2 separate regions of the Homo sapiens genome follow, and region 2 is linked to region 1. The links are contacts of gene promoters, found by promoter capture Hi-C in blood cells and fetal thymus (Javierre and others, 2016). All regions are on one chromosome and are shown on one strand. The core of a region is centred on a gene start or on the middle of the fragment in contact, and the rest is flanking DNA. Distances in the headings are between cores, read along the strand shown.

Region 1 (7,091 bases), core at 3,770-6,269:
TCATAAAATAATATGTCCTCAATAGAGGCTTTCAACTTGGACCCCACAATGAGAAGATAGATCTGCAGTCTATCTCTAGCAGGACCACAGCCAACCAACAACTCATCATGTGCTCTGGGTAGGAAGCAAATGATTGTGGTTATAAGCGACTGAAAGTTTGGGGTGCTTCTGCAGTAAGAGCTGACTAATACAGATATAAAAATGTGCCTCTACAACAAAAGTACTGAATTTTCAAGATTAATATTTTTGTGTTACTATGGCAGTAAAAGAAAGCACCTTTAGATATGTGTTTGGAATTATAGACTTAAAATATAGAATATATGGCTTGGAGATCTTCTCAAAAAGGCTGAACTTGAGGTTTGAGAGACGCAAGTGATTGCCAAGTAGGAGAAACAAGCTGTGTGGATACAGATGCCTTTAGGAGAGAATCCAAGTAGTGGGTTCAAATACAGGCCCCACACTGAAGGTACAAGGGTAGATGTTTCAAATTGTAGGTGTTTATTTTCAATCAAGCTGCACCTTGAGTGGGAAACTTCATGAAGCATGTTCAGAAGGTATAGCAGATAGAATTTTCTTTTTTAAAGATCAAGAAGACCAACTAGTGTTAGATTCAAAGAGAATAGGACCTGCATACTGAACTTTAAATTTTAACATAATATCACTATGACAGACTTTAAAAAAACCATACTTCAGGTGATGGTCATATTTCTACAGTATTTTATTCAATAGAGGTCACTACATATCTTTAGACAGAATTATTCTAAAATTACCAAGGGCTTAAACAGATTAATAGCAAGATAGTTCTTTTAGTATGTTCTTTTAGATGGTCAGCCTTATGAGAAAAGAACTTATGCTTTTAACTGAGTTCTGGAAAAAATTTAAAAAAAAAGAAAGGGGCAATTTACACATAATCCAATTCAAAATAGAGGAGAAAAGGAAAGAAGGAGAAAGCCTGGCATTTCTATTTCCCATTTTCCCCCTCATTTGGAGTTCTACACAGACCAAGGTGCAATGAATTCAGAGTCCTATGATGAATTTGGTCTTGATTTGCAGGGAGAGTTGAAATACTCAATCTATCTGATTGCCACTGCTAACTTAGTGATTGATTATCTAAGAGGTGGTTCCTGGTTTCTGAAAATCCCTAAAAGAAAACTAAAGGAGAGCAGAGGAAAGCCTTGATGAGTGAAAAGAGCTTCGTTATTAAAATCTTTATATTCTGGAGTGGAATCTGATACTGACCTTGGCAATAGCCCTAAAAATCGATTAAGTAACAGATTCTAGAAATCATCTCTTTCTCCATTATCCAAGGTCATAGCAATGACTCATCTGAAAACTCTAAGCAGCCATTGCTTGAAAAATTATACCGACAGGATTTCAGAAGGGGTTTTCAATTTTAAAGAAAATGTCTATTTCACCACGTCTGATATATATTCCTTAGGTCTCGACTAATTTTTTCCCCAAGTGATGGGTTGTTATCTCTCTTTTTATATTTTTTTTCAAAGTTATCTTGGAAGAGTATTCATAGAATAGAATAAAGCTGCTGCAGAAAGGCAGCTCAGGAAACATCTGAGGTCCTTTTTCCTTCACCATAATTTTAGAGATGAGAAAATGGATCCCTAAGATCCTTGGGCTTTCGTAGTTAGACAAAGATGGTGCTAGGTCCGGATCCCAAGCCTCTTGTCCTCTAAGGCTTTCACGCTCTCCCATACTGTCTCAGATTAGTTTGGGATCAAAATATTTAGCTCTTTACCTTACCCAGGATCTTTTTGCAGTGTTACAAGGCCCCCATTCTTCTTTTGTTGCTTTCTCTTGTATAGTCCTAACATTCATTGAGACACAGTTTGCAAAAAGTGAGGGTGTGGGTCTCAACACTGACCCTTTGCAGCAGTCACAGAAAAACATCTTAACAGTGAAGTTTGAGATTTGTGTGTTCAGTGTTTCTAATTCAATGCTGTCGATGACACTGGCTTCTAGTTATTTAGCACATATGAATCATGTTATAGTATCAAAATACTTTTCTATCAATAGCAACTTCTTAGCATGAATCAGGCCAGTTTTATTATTTCCTCCTCCCCAAAGCAGCTTTCCTGGTCACATCAGATTTAATGAGGTGCAATAAGTTGCCCAGATGCTTAGCTGTCACAACTCCTAAAGTGTACAGGGTGCAAGCCAAAAGTTTTAGATTAAGGGTAGAAATTGTCTTACCTCTGGGATTCCTGGTTACTAAGGACAAAGTTGGGGGGTGGGTGACAAAGGGGTTTGGGAAAGGGTAGAAGAATATCTTGCGTTCATTTATAGCAAGCCAGGAGTTCACAGGTATTTTAGCTCATCCCTAGTTGCTAGAGTCTTTAAAGATTCTGCTTCATCCTGAAAATCTGCTGTAGTACAGGGAAGGGTAAAGGTAGAGAGAAGGGCCACTGACAGAGTCCAGTTCATCCCCAACTGACCCTAACTTCAAGAGGCAACAACTCAAATTCTCAGAGGGAATGGGAGCACTTTAGATCAGCAATACACCAACACTGGTCTGATCCTAGTTGCTGTTGACAAGAGTGGACACTTTGAGTGTGCCCCTTGGCATGGTGATTCTGAACATGAACCCAGAGGTGATTCCAAACCTGGAATGAGAATAAGGCTTTCCTTGGGCATGACTCAAGTAGAAAAGCTCTTTGAATCACATTTGAATCTGAGTCACCCACCAGTCTTTTCTTTGTCCCATAAAGGCAATTCAAGCATTGAGGTATAAACCAGGCTTTTTGATTCTCAGCCTTCCCTTCTCAGCCACCTCACATCTCAACCACCCCATGGAAACAGTAAGATTTCTTTCAGGCATTTATTTTAAAGAGAGACTACTTCATACAACCAGGTTTGGGGGATTTGAGGGCTTAAGAGAGTTACTAGAAATTACTGTCAGTTCTTGCTGTAAAGCTATCTCTGCCCCTGGGACGCATGGCCTGCCAAATGGCCTCATAAATCTGATTATTCTCCTTTCCTTTTTCTCTTTCCATGTTAAAATTCTTCTGATTTACCAGCAACTTCAGGAGAGTTAAAACAAATGAAACCTAACAGAAATTCTGACCCTCCACTGCCACCAATGCACTCAAGATGCATCATCATGAACTGTATTTTTAGAGACTTGCAAGTGTTATATTGGGCTAACTCATATTTTGGTCATCTTTGTCACCTCCTCCAAATCCCTCTGATATTTATTTTGAAGACCTTCTGAGAGTCTACAACCACACTTGCTAGAAATTCTTACTCACTTAATCTTACATGTCTCATGCTACTGTTTAATTCTGTTCTCTTGATTTTCAAAGCTCTGTCTGATGGACCTTGTATTACAATGGACCTTGTATAAGATGGACCTTGTCTGATGGACATGTATTACAATACATGAATTACATGCCTATAGAAAAAACTGAATGGAAGATTCTGAAAACTCATGCTTTTAGATGCTTTCCCCAGTTTCAGCAGCAGCCCCTTCATTATCTTATGTGTCTCACACCCCTATTCCACTTTCTCCCCCTCCCTCTTCATAGAATCTCAAATCTTCAGACTATCAAATGAAAAGCATAATTTTCATCACTTAGGTTATGACCCTTCTACCATAGAATAGCCGTTGATATAGCCAATTAGGTAAGACTTAGGGTCCAATTCTATCAGAATTCTCTCTGATAGAAATGCTCAGAAAATTCTGTGATCATATGGTTCAAAACGATTTGTTACCAAAATCCACTCCTACAATTAAGCATTCTGGTTTCATGGCTGGGGGTGGGAGGCAGTTACATGTTTCTTTATATCAGAATCAGAAGGAAACAAACAAAAAAACCAACGGAAATAGGGAAATGCAGTTTGAAAAGTAGAAACTGTTAAAAGAGCAACAGAAAGACTGTTAAAAGGGAAAACATAAGCTAAGGAAACAGCACGAAGGGCAGGTGTACAACAGCAATGCCATGTGAAAATGTAAGGAATTCTATAGTGGTAATTCCGGGATAAATTAGCCTGAAAACAGCTCTCTGGTTAGCTTTGGGTTGTAGGGGGAGATGGAAGTTCCTGGACAATTAACCATCTGCTATGTCTTTTTGTACCCTTACCACCCAGCTCAGCGTCTGGGCACAGAGTAGCTGTCAATATTTGTATAGTAAGTGTAACACTGGCCGAACTACCCTGTTTTCAAACAAACTATAAAATTCTGTGACACAGTCCCTTCCAAGCACACACAGGCCCAATCTATGGAAGGAATTATCGGGGAAACGACCTAAAGGAAAGTATGGGGCATCCATTGGCTACAGTTCAGCTGGCTGCTTGGGGGAAAAACGCAAAGAGGACGCAAGCTCAGCTGTGCTTGATGTGAGACCACCCTTGAGATTTGTCTTTTACATTATTGTCTGCCAGGCTCCTGCGCAACTTCTATCTCCACCTGTGGACCTGAAGGCAACCGAGGAGTTAGCCAGGGGCAGTTCTGTGGTAACAAGAAAGACTCTTGGGGGCTGTATGCCTCCACTGCCTTGGCGCCTCTTGCCTGCAATTGCCGCGCTGCCCCTCGTGCCTCTGCAAAGATGCAGAGGTCGAAGCACGTTTCTGTGCGGTGATGAAATGCTCGCTGAATCAGCCTCTCGAGCCCGGCCTCTCACACCCACCAGGATCCTGGGGTTGTCTCTAGGATCCCTGTGGGTGCTCCTGCCACCTTCTTAGACTACCCTCGCCCTCCTAATCCAGGCCCACTTCTCTGGCTCATGTCCACCCCTTGATGGGCGTTCCGGGGTCGTCACTGTCCTCTGCGCCCCTGGGCACTGGCAGCGCGGGCCGGGCAGCGGGGAGGGAGGCGGGAAGCAGAGCGGGAGGCGCCCCGGGCTTGCGCGCCGCGGTGCTCCACGAGGGATTTGCCGCCTTCAGCTGCAGCAGCTGCAGCGGCGGCGGCGGGAAGAGGGGTGGAGGGTGGTGAGGAGGGCCGGAGCCCGGGCCAGGAGGGAGGGAGGGGAGCCGGGAGGCTGTGCCAGGCGAGCCGGAGGGGTGCTCCGCGCTCCCCCGCCCTCCTTCCGGGAGCGAGGATGCAGACTCTGAAACTGGTGCTGCTGGGCTGAGGCGGAGGCAGGGGAGTTGCAGCGCGCGAGGCTCCGTGAGTGTGTCTCCTGCGCGCTGAGAGGCGGGGGGAGGCGGAGGACCAGGAGGAGGAGGAGGAGGAGGAGGAGGGGGAGAATGCCCGGAGCCGCCGCCGCTGCCGCCGCCGCCGCCGCCGCGATGCTCCCGGCTCAGGAGGCTGCCAAGCTGTACCACACCAACTATGTGCGGAACTCGCGGGCCATCGGCGTGCTGTGGGCCATCTTCACCATCTGCTTTGCCATCGTCAACGTGGTGTGCTTCATCCAGCCCTACTGGATAGGCGACGGCGTGGACACCCCGCAAGCCGGCTATTTCGGGCTCTTCCACTACTGCATCGGCAACGGCTTCTCCCGGGAGCTGACCTGCAGGGGCAGCTTCACGGACTTCTCCACGCTGCCCTCGGGCGCCTTCAAAGCCGCCTCCTTCTTTATCGGCCTCTCCATGATGCTCATCATTGCCTGCATCATTTGCTTTACCCTCTTCTTCTTCTGCAACACGGCCACTGTGTACAAGATATGTGCCTGGATGCAGCTCACCTCCGGTGAGTGCGCGCTCACCTCCGCGGAGGCGGAGGACCCCGGGGCGCCCGAGCCGGGGAGGGGCCAGAGTGGGAGGGACGGGGGCTGTGCGCGCCGCTGCGAGCCAAGCCGCCTAATCCGCTCAGGCGTCGAGGTGTGGGGGGCGGGAGCCCAGCGAGGCCGGAACCCCCGGGGTTCCCCAGCCCCGGCGCTGGCGCCTCGTCCCGGGGCTTTCGTGAGCCTCCCAAGTGTGGGGGACGCCCACTCAGAGGGACGCCCCGGAGGCAGGGCGGTTGTGGGGCCGAGTCCGCTCAGAACTAAGGATGGTGGGTGGAGAAGTGGCCGCTTAGAGAGATGGGGCCGGGGTTCCGTGCTGAGGGACTAAGGAGGGACTGACAGGGCGAAGTGAAAAGCGGATTTGGAGAGGTCATAGTGGAAGGAGCAGCCAGCCTGCCCTGCCCCTCGCTGCTGGGACTATTTCTGTCATTGATCCTGGGAAAGGGGGCGGGGGGCGGTGGCTGGAGTGATACTGTTTCTTTCCATCCCGGGCAGTTAAATATGTTTACTCCTCCATCCGGAGGTGAAGAGATCTTAATTCTGTTTTGGGTTTCCCCTTGTAAGAAGAATGTAGCTTAGAACATTCTTTCGCAATTCCTCAATGTCAAGTCTTCAGTTTGCCTCCTTGTCCGTGCAAAGTTCCTTCCATTTCATCTTTAAACAGAAGTCTTTAGTAAATCAAGATTCCTCAAGATCTCATTTTTGGGAAGTGGCTTTGGGGAAGTAGGCAGAGAGGAGAATGTTTCATTAGCATCTCCGATCACTCTTTCCCTGTGGATGATAAATTGTTGCTAGCTGGAGGATATGAAAGTACTTTTTTTCTGTGCATCAAAGTTACTTTTAACCCAGAAAGGATGGGGTACATTTCCTGGTGACTTTGAAGAGTCCTGAAACAAAACTGACTCCTTGCTGTACTTCCCCTGATGGCGATTGCCTCTCTGCCAGCCAGCTTGGATGCCCTCCCTTCTAAAGTCAAGGGTCCAGTGGTCGTGACACATTTCTGTTCCAACATTGTTGAGGTCCTTTTGATTTTATGGATGGTCTGGTTGTAGAAGGGCACTGAATATCTTAGGCAGCTAAAGTTTTCATTTGCGTTTTCTTTTACTGTTCTCATTTTTAAGATGTTTCAAGATTTTGTCGTTTATTCTATTCCTGGGAAGGTTTTCTGGGGAGAGGGATTCAATCCCTGACAGAGTGTTGTAGGATGAGTAGATACTTAAAGGTGCTGGACAATAGCGTTAAGGTTCATAGTCCTATATTGCTAGTTTGATAAGGAAAGAGAAGCTTGTGGGAGACTACACTTGTGTGAAAGTATTTATTTTGTGTTTTGGCTCGCCTGATATTGATTTGCCATATATTGTAAAAGTGTGTATGTGAAAAGCAAGAAATGAGCAGCAGTAGAGACTCCCTCCTTTA
Region 2 (7,145 bases), core at 387-2,886, 530 kb after region 1:
CTGGGTTGGGAATACCACCAGTGAGAAGGGGAGGTTCCTCGAGTCAGGGGACAATGAGTTGGGCCAGCAGCTGGTGGGAGAGAGAATCTAAAAAGCCATCAGTCCTGAGTGACAGGCTGTGAGGATCCTAAGTACCCCCATGCCAGAGGGAGTGCTTTCAGCCAGTTCACTTGAGCCTACTCTGTGCCTGGGGGATCTTTCTCTCCCTCCTTCCAACCTTCTGGAATATGTCTGTTTTTGCCTTTTCTGGCCAGCACACAGCACCTTCCAGGGACAAAAATGCAGACTGCGTGACTTCAGTGATTGTACAGATGAGTTAAATGCTCTGACATTTGCATTTAAACTGGCATTGCATGAAATAAAAATGAATGGTAAATTAGTGCTAATTTGATTTATTTTTATTTACTTAGAATGACATTTAAAAGTATATATTCAAAATCCCACAACAAGATGAGAGGGACCACAGGAAAAAGGGAAAATGTTTGTATTTTAGTACCTTTAATGGCACTTTTTCCTGCTTTTTGAACAATTTTCATTTAACACTGGATCTGCAAATTATGTAGCTGGTCCTATCTGCAGCCTAGTTCCACCTTGACTTGGAGATAATCATCTTTGCCTCTATACAATGTTAGAGGTGAAATTCTAATCCTGTAGGGGGAAAACAGTTCCCAATTTCTGACTGTAGGTAATTTCAATCTGATTATCTGTTTACCCACCAGAGAAAAAAAGGAAGAAACTTAAAAGTAAAAAGCAAAGAGGTGCTTGCATTTAGACAAGCATCACAGGGGAGGAAAAACAATTCTCCTTTTACCCTTTTGAGTTCTTAGCTAGGATGAACCCCTGTAATAAAAGACAGGTTAACAAGATAAAAACAAACAGAAGTTTAAGAACATAACTTCACGTATACATAGGAGATACCCAGAGACATGAGCAAATTTCAAAGAGGTGGCTTTAAGTTCAGGCTTAAATACCATCTTCAGCTGAAACAAAGAAAGGAGGGTATTGCAAGGGCCAGTTAGAGGGAGGTGACCAGGAAAAGCATGGTAAACAAGTGGAAGGTTTGTTATCCATATTTGAGTGCATTCTTCATTGATAAGTCTGACTTAGAGTCATCCTTCTTTACTCAATACAGAAGTTCACCCTCATGAATGGAGATTTCCTTTCTGGATGTGAATTTCCCTTACAAAAGGGAACTCCTACCCTGTCTTCAGAGCTTCTCCTGTGTCTGCAGTTTCTCAAAATAATCAGCTCAAAATTATCCTTATACTGAAGAAATGTATTTCAGGATGGCATACTCTAGCTGGTAACTTCCTATATGCACAGGGCAATATGAGATCTATTCATTAATTATGAGAGACTCTCTTCAACAATGTATCTTCTTATACTCAACACAGATTGTCCATACTTCCAGCATATTACAAATGATTTAGGTCATTTATCACCTTCCGGTCTGAAGTCTAGCACCTCAAATGACAATTAATAAGCTTGTAATTTCTCATAGCTTCAGTATGAAAAAAAGGGAATAAAGCAAAATTAAGAAAATATCACTTCTGTAGCACCATTTGTCTAAGTAAAATGTGCAGGGCTACATTTTAAATGATATTTTTTAAAGAGAGAGTACAGCACCTTGGCCCTTCCTCCCAGGTCAAAAAAAAACTATATATAAAGTGAGGCCTGCAATGGCGTATAATTTCTCATAATTACTCTCCATTGACTATTAACGTATCCACCCAAACACACCTTTCTCTGCACTTTTGTGAACCTCAGTAAGCTCTTTAGTCTGGCGTGGGAAGCTTAATGTATTTCCTGTGAAATTGTACCATTCTCCTTGATCAGCTTATCCCAGGTTTGCAAATTGAAAAAACTTCATTCCTGGCATCAGCAGCCTGTTAAATTGGTTCTCATTAATAATTGAATCTTAAGACCGTTTCAAGACATTTATGAGAACAGATTAGTGAGGAGGGGAGAGCGATACCGTGAGACACCGTGTCATGATGGAACAGACCAATGACCTCACCTGGAGGTTAAGTGTGGAGCCCAGACTGGGGGAGCTTAAATCCTTAGAGAAATCCATTATCAAAATACACAGGACATCACCCCTGCAGACTGATGGGCCTACCTACCATTTATTTTCCAGTGATATACTTTTAATGCTGATCAAGATGCATTCTTTTTGGACTTGGAGTGTGACTGCAAGTCACATTCTTATGTTTCACATTAAGCTCTCTTGGATTTTGAATTATGTATAATGGTGTTGCAGAATATTTCTTCCTTTCATCCAGAGGAGAAAATACAATCCTCCTGAAATGTCAGACTAGAGAAACAGATATGCTCCTAGCTTAACAATCCAAAAGAATACCCTTCTGGATGTTTTTCAGACATATGGATATCCAAATAACTCCAGATTTTTCTTTCTTTTTTTTTTTTTAGTCGGAGCCTCGCTCTGTCACCCAGTCTGGAGTGCAGTGGCACAATCTCAGCTCACTGCAACCTCCACCTCCTGGATTCAAGTGATTCTCTTGCCTCAGCTTCACGAGTAGCTGGGATTACAGGTGCACGCCACCACACCAGTTAAAATAGAGACTGGGTTTTACCTTGTTGCCCAGGCTGGTCTCCAACTCCTGACCTCAAGTGATCTGCCTGCCTTGGCCTGCCAATGTGCTGGGATTACAGGCATGAGCCAAATTAACTCCAGATCTTTATAGCAAATCCTTTAAGCGTGTCCATGCTTGCACAACACCAAAACTTGCCTGGCCCAGAATCTCCCAACCCCATCTATGACTGAAGATAATTTCAGTCCTGTTATTCTTTTACCCATGTGAGAAAAAGAAGGAAAACTAATAGTAAAAGAATAAAGAGATTCCTGCATTTAGATGAGCATCTGTCACATTCTTCAGTAACCCCGGGAGTTTCTCAAAGGAGGCCTGTCAGCTGCCTCAAAGTATAATATCAGAACCATCTGGGGGATTGGTTTAGAATGCCAATGCCTGCACTCTGCCCAGATCTCCTGATTCTGTCCCAGGAAATTTTTTTTTTTTTTTTTTTTTTTTTTTTGAGACAGAGTCTTGCTCTGTCACACAGGCTGGAGAGCAGTGGCGCCATCTTGGCTCACCACAACCTCTGCCTCCGGATTCAAGCAATTCTCCTGCCTCAGCCTCCCGAGTAGCCGGGATTACAGGCACCCGCCACCACACCCAGCTAATTTTTGTATTTTTAGTAGAAACAGCGTTTCACCATGTTGGTCAGGCTGGTCTCAAACTCCTGACCTCGTGATCCACCTGCCTCAGCCTCCCAAAGTGCTGGGATTACAGGCACGAGCCACTGAGCCCGGCCAACTCTAGAATATTTTAGTTAACCAGGAGGCTCTTATGTGGTGCAATTTGAGAACCACCAACCTCTAGACACTTTCACTAATTTCAGTGTATTATTAAATCTAAGGATCCAAAAATTATATTGTACACGTGAGAATCTTTAAATCACTTGCTTAGTAGAATGAAATTGTATGTTTTTTAATTGCCAGAAATTGAAAGCAAATTTCTTTCAACATTCCCCTTTTCAGTAAGCATGTATTGTGACCTGGGTACTGTGTATTATAGTAAGGTGTATTATGACCTGGATACTGTGCTAGGTTCTGTACATTAACTGATCTTCAGAGCTTCTTTATGAGCATTGATACCCTGCATGTTCAGTATACATCAGAAAATCTCAGGCTGCAAGAATAGGATGAAAAGTGAGTATTTGAGAGGCTTAGCAAAAAAGGTAATAATAACAGCTAACAGAATCCCAATTTCCTTGCATTTTTGTGATTGTGCTGTATGCCAGGGTCTTTGCCTATATTATCTCATTTCACCCGCGTGATAACTTATGAAGTAGGTACAGGCAGATTGTTCCCATTTCATAGACGTTCATTGTACACATGAGGACACCATAGCTCAGTGAGCCTATTTGACTAGTAGGCGATGCAGCAAGGACGCACTGCCAGCAATCTGCCTCTGGAACGAAGGCTTTTTATTCACCGCTACCACGGCAGTTTTCCTTTCCATAATAAGGCGGGGCAGGAAATGATGCTACCAAATGCAAATATAATATCACAATGATGCCACCAAATGCAAATATAATATCATACATCCAACTAATTTCTACTCCAATAGTGATTCATTCTATATTATTTTACTCATTCTATATTATGGATTCATGAAGTATACAACATATGCCAGACCTTATACCAGGCTCTGGGGATACAAGATGAATAAATGTGTGCCTCAAGAAGCTCCCAGTTACTGAGATCCAGTTATACAGAAAGTTCAGAATTAGAACTCAGAACCCCCAACTTCCTTGAGGCTATTGGCATGCCTTTCTAAAATGCTCCCAGGAAAATTAATTTCCAACCTTGTTGCATTATTGTGATGTCAGAACAACTCTGCCAATTTGACTGTTCTTACTCAACCAAAACCACTCCTGGGGGCAGTAGATTTGAAACTGAATCCTCTTTGTCGTGAAATCTGGAGAATTGTAATTTTTAACATGTTTTGATGTGTTAATGTTAGTCTTTTTCCTCCTTTCTGGATGATGGTAAAATTTACTGAGCTCCCAAAACTGGCACCCTCGGTGTAATTCCTAATAAATAAAGACTGAAACTATGCACAAGAGCAGCGGGGAGTTTTCTAGCTGAAAATTCCACAGGAAACGGGGCTTGTGGTTTGCAATCATTACTACACAGCAGCTTCTGTGGCAGTTAAAATCAAGTTAAAGTCAAGTAGGTAAATTCTAGCTGTGTCCCAGGTTACTTCCTGCTATGAAGGCTGAATGCAAACCAGAGTATCTCACCATCAATATAAAAACTGTGTACAGAGTTTTCCTCAGCCCATTTAACATTACAGGTGTTTCAGGACTGTTGGAGGATTCCTGGGGCAAAATAAACCTAGGGTCTCAGTTACAAGCTGTGGGAGCCACAGGCTGTGGCTCAGATCTTACTGCAACCTACAACTTGCTGGCCTCCTCACCTTTCAATCTTTGGTGCTCAAGAGCAGACCTACCTTGGGAGATCCCCTCTCGAAGGTAAATAATAGACAGACAGTCCTGCCCTGTCCTGCTCAGACATTGTCATCACCCCAGGTTGCTTTCTCCCACCTTGAAAACTCTCCATCCAGGACCACACCCATACCCTATCTGCCTTCTCCACTTCCATTTCTAGGCAGCTGAGCATAGCTGGAGAAAGACCCCAAACATGGTGATGTATCTACATACATACCTCTAGCCTCTGCTGCCCACTCCCTGCCACTTGGTACCTCTTTCATTTCTTGCAGACCCCTCCCACATCCCTTCCAGAAGTGGCTCCAAACCTCCTCCTCTTTGCCCAAGCCTTCAGCACACCTCCACCCTCACTGAACCCCAACAGCCCCTGCTGGGATAAAACTCATCAATGACAGCTCCAAATTCCTTCTCTCACCTCAAATCTTTTCTTTATTTTCAACCTTTTATATTCTCATCTCTGTATCTGTCATTTTTCTGTCCCAGAGCCTACTATTCCTCCTGAGTTCTTAATCCCCTCCCCTTGGGTCCCTCCAGAGGTTCGAGTCTGTCAATTACTTTTTTTTCTCCACATTGGAGTACTTTCTCCCAAGTTGCATCTTCCCATCATCCTATAAATGTGTTTATCCTATAACAGTGCAGGACCACTACCTGCACATGCCATACCTAGAGCTTTTACTTGTTCTCTCACCTTTTCACTCCTAAAATTTTATTTAAAAAAAAAAAAAATCTGTTGACAGGGCACAGTGGCTCACACCTGTAATCCTAGCACTTTGGGAGGCCAAGGCAGGTGGATCACCTGAGGTCAGGAGTTCGAGACCAGCCTGGCCAACATGGCAAAACCCAGTCTCTACTAAAAAAAAATACAAAAATTAGCCAGGCGTGTTGGCAGGTGCCTGTAATCCCAGCTACTCAGGAGGCTGAGGCAGGAGAATCACTTGAACCCAGGAAGTGGAGGTTGTAGTGAACCAAGATCATACCACTGCACTCCAGCCTGGGCAACAGAGTAAGACACTGTCTCAAAAAAAAAAAAACAAAAAACCAAAATCTGTTATTCACATTTCTATTACCACCCTACCTAGTCACTCTTTTTGAAAAAAATTATTATGAATACTTTCTGCATTCAAAAAAGCATTAAGTAGGCCAGGCATGGTGGCTCATGCCTGTAATCCCAGAACTTTGGGAGGCTGAGGCAGGCGGATCACTTGAGGTCAGGAGTTCAAGACCAGCCTGGCCAACATAGTGAAACCCCATCTCTACCAAAAACACAAAAATTAGCAGGGCATGGTGGCACATGCCTGTAGTCCCAAACACTCGGGAGGCTGAGGTAGGAGAATCACTTGAACCCGGAAGGCGGAGGTTTCGGTGAGCTGAGATCATACCACCACACTCCAGCCTGGGTGACAGAGGAAGACCCCATCTCAAAATAAATAAATAAATAAAGTATAAGTAGAGGTATGAATAGGGAGACCACAGAGGATTTTTAGAACAATGAAACTACTTAGGATACTATAATAGTGGATACACATCTGTCAATTTGTATAAATCCATAGAATGTATAATACTAAAAGTGTACTCTAATGTGGACTATAAACTCTGGGTGATAATGATGTGTCAATGTAGGTTTATCAATTGTAACAAATGTATCACTGGTAGGAGATGTTGATAGTGCAGAAAACAGTGCATACCTGGGGACAAGTTGTGTAAGGGAACTCTGTACCTTCTGCTCAATTTTGCTGCAAACCTAAAACTACTCTAAAAGTAACATTTTTTCAGAAGCATAAACTATGATGTGATAAACACCTGCTTACTCACCACTTGGCTTAAGAAATAAAGTACGACCCATAACCCCACTCAGTGTTGGACTGGGACTTAATTTCACTTCTAATCCTTCTACCACCACCCCCCAAATACACACACACATACACCCACCCACACACACACACACACACACACACACACGCATACCTCAAATGGCCTTTTTCTCTCAGGCCTGTTGTGCAAACTTACTCGGCTCTCCCTGCCCAATGCAGGCAGGGTTGATTATGAAATAATCCACTGCTGAATAATGAACCTTGCATGGTGTAGTTACTTCCAGCAATATATTTGTTCTA

Evidence for each region. Contacts are between HindIII fragments. The CHiCAGO score rates a contact against its expected background, and 5 or more counts as called.
Region 2: a contact is called between a fragment that was not itself captured here and the fragment with the promoter of LHFPL3 in region 1, in 1 of 17 cell types (endothelial precursors). The highest score is 5.8, in endothelial precursors.

The regions. Positions count from the first base shown.
Region 1 is chr7:104,323,584-104,330,674 of GRCh38, forward strand. LHFPL3 (LHFPL tetraspan subfamily member 3) reads left to right here and starts at 5,020. Exons shown (of 3, transcript NM_199000.3): 1 at 5,020-5,641. The coding sequence starts at 5,197. The HindIII fragment of the contact is 14,292 bases long and covers 1-6,957 here.
Region 2 is chr7:104,853,215-104,860,359 of GRCh38, forward strand. The region is part of intron 2 of LHFPL3 (LHFPL tetraspan subfamily member 3); the gene reads left to right. Among named protein-coding and RNA genes, the nearest start is that of LHFPL3-AS1, 53 kb to the left of the region's middle. The HindIII fragment of the contact is 309 bases long and covers 1,483-1,791 here.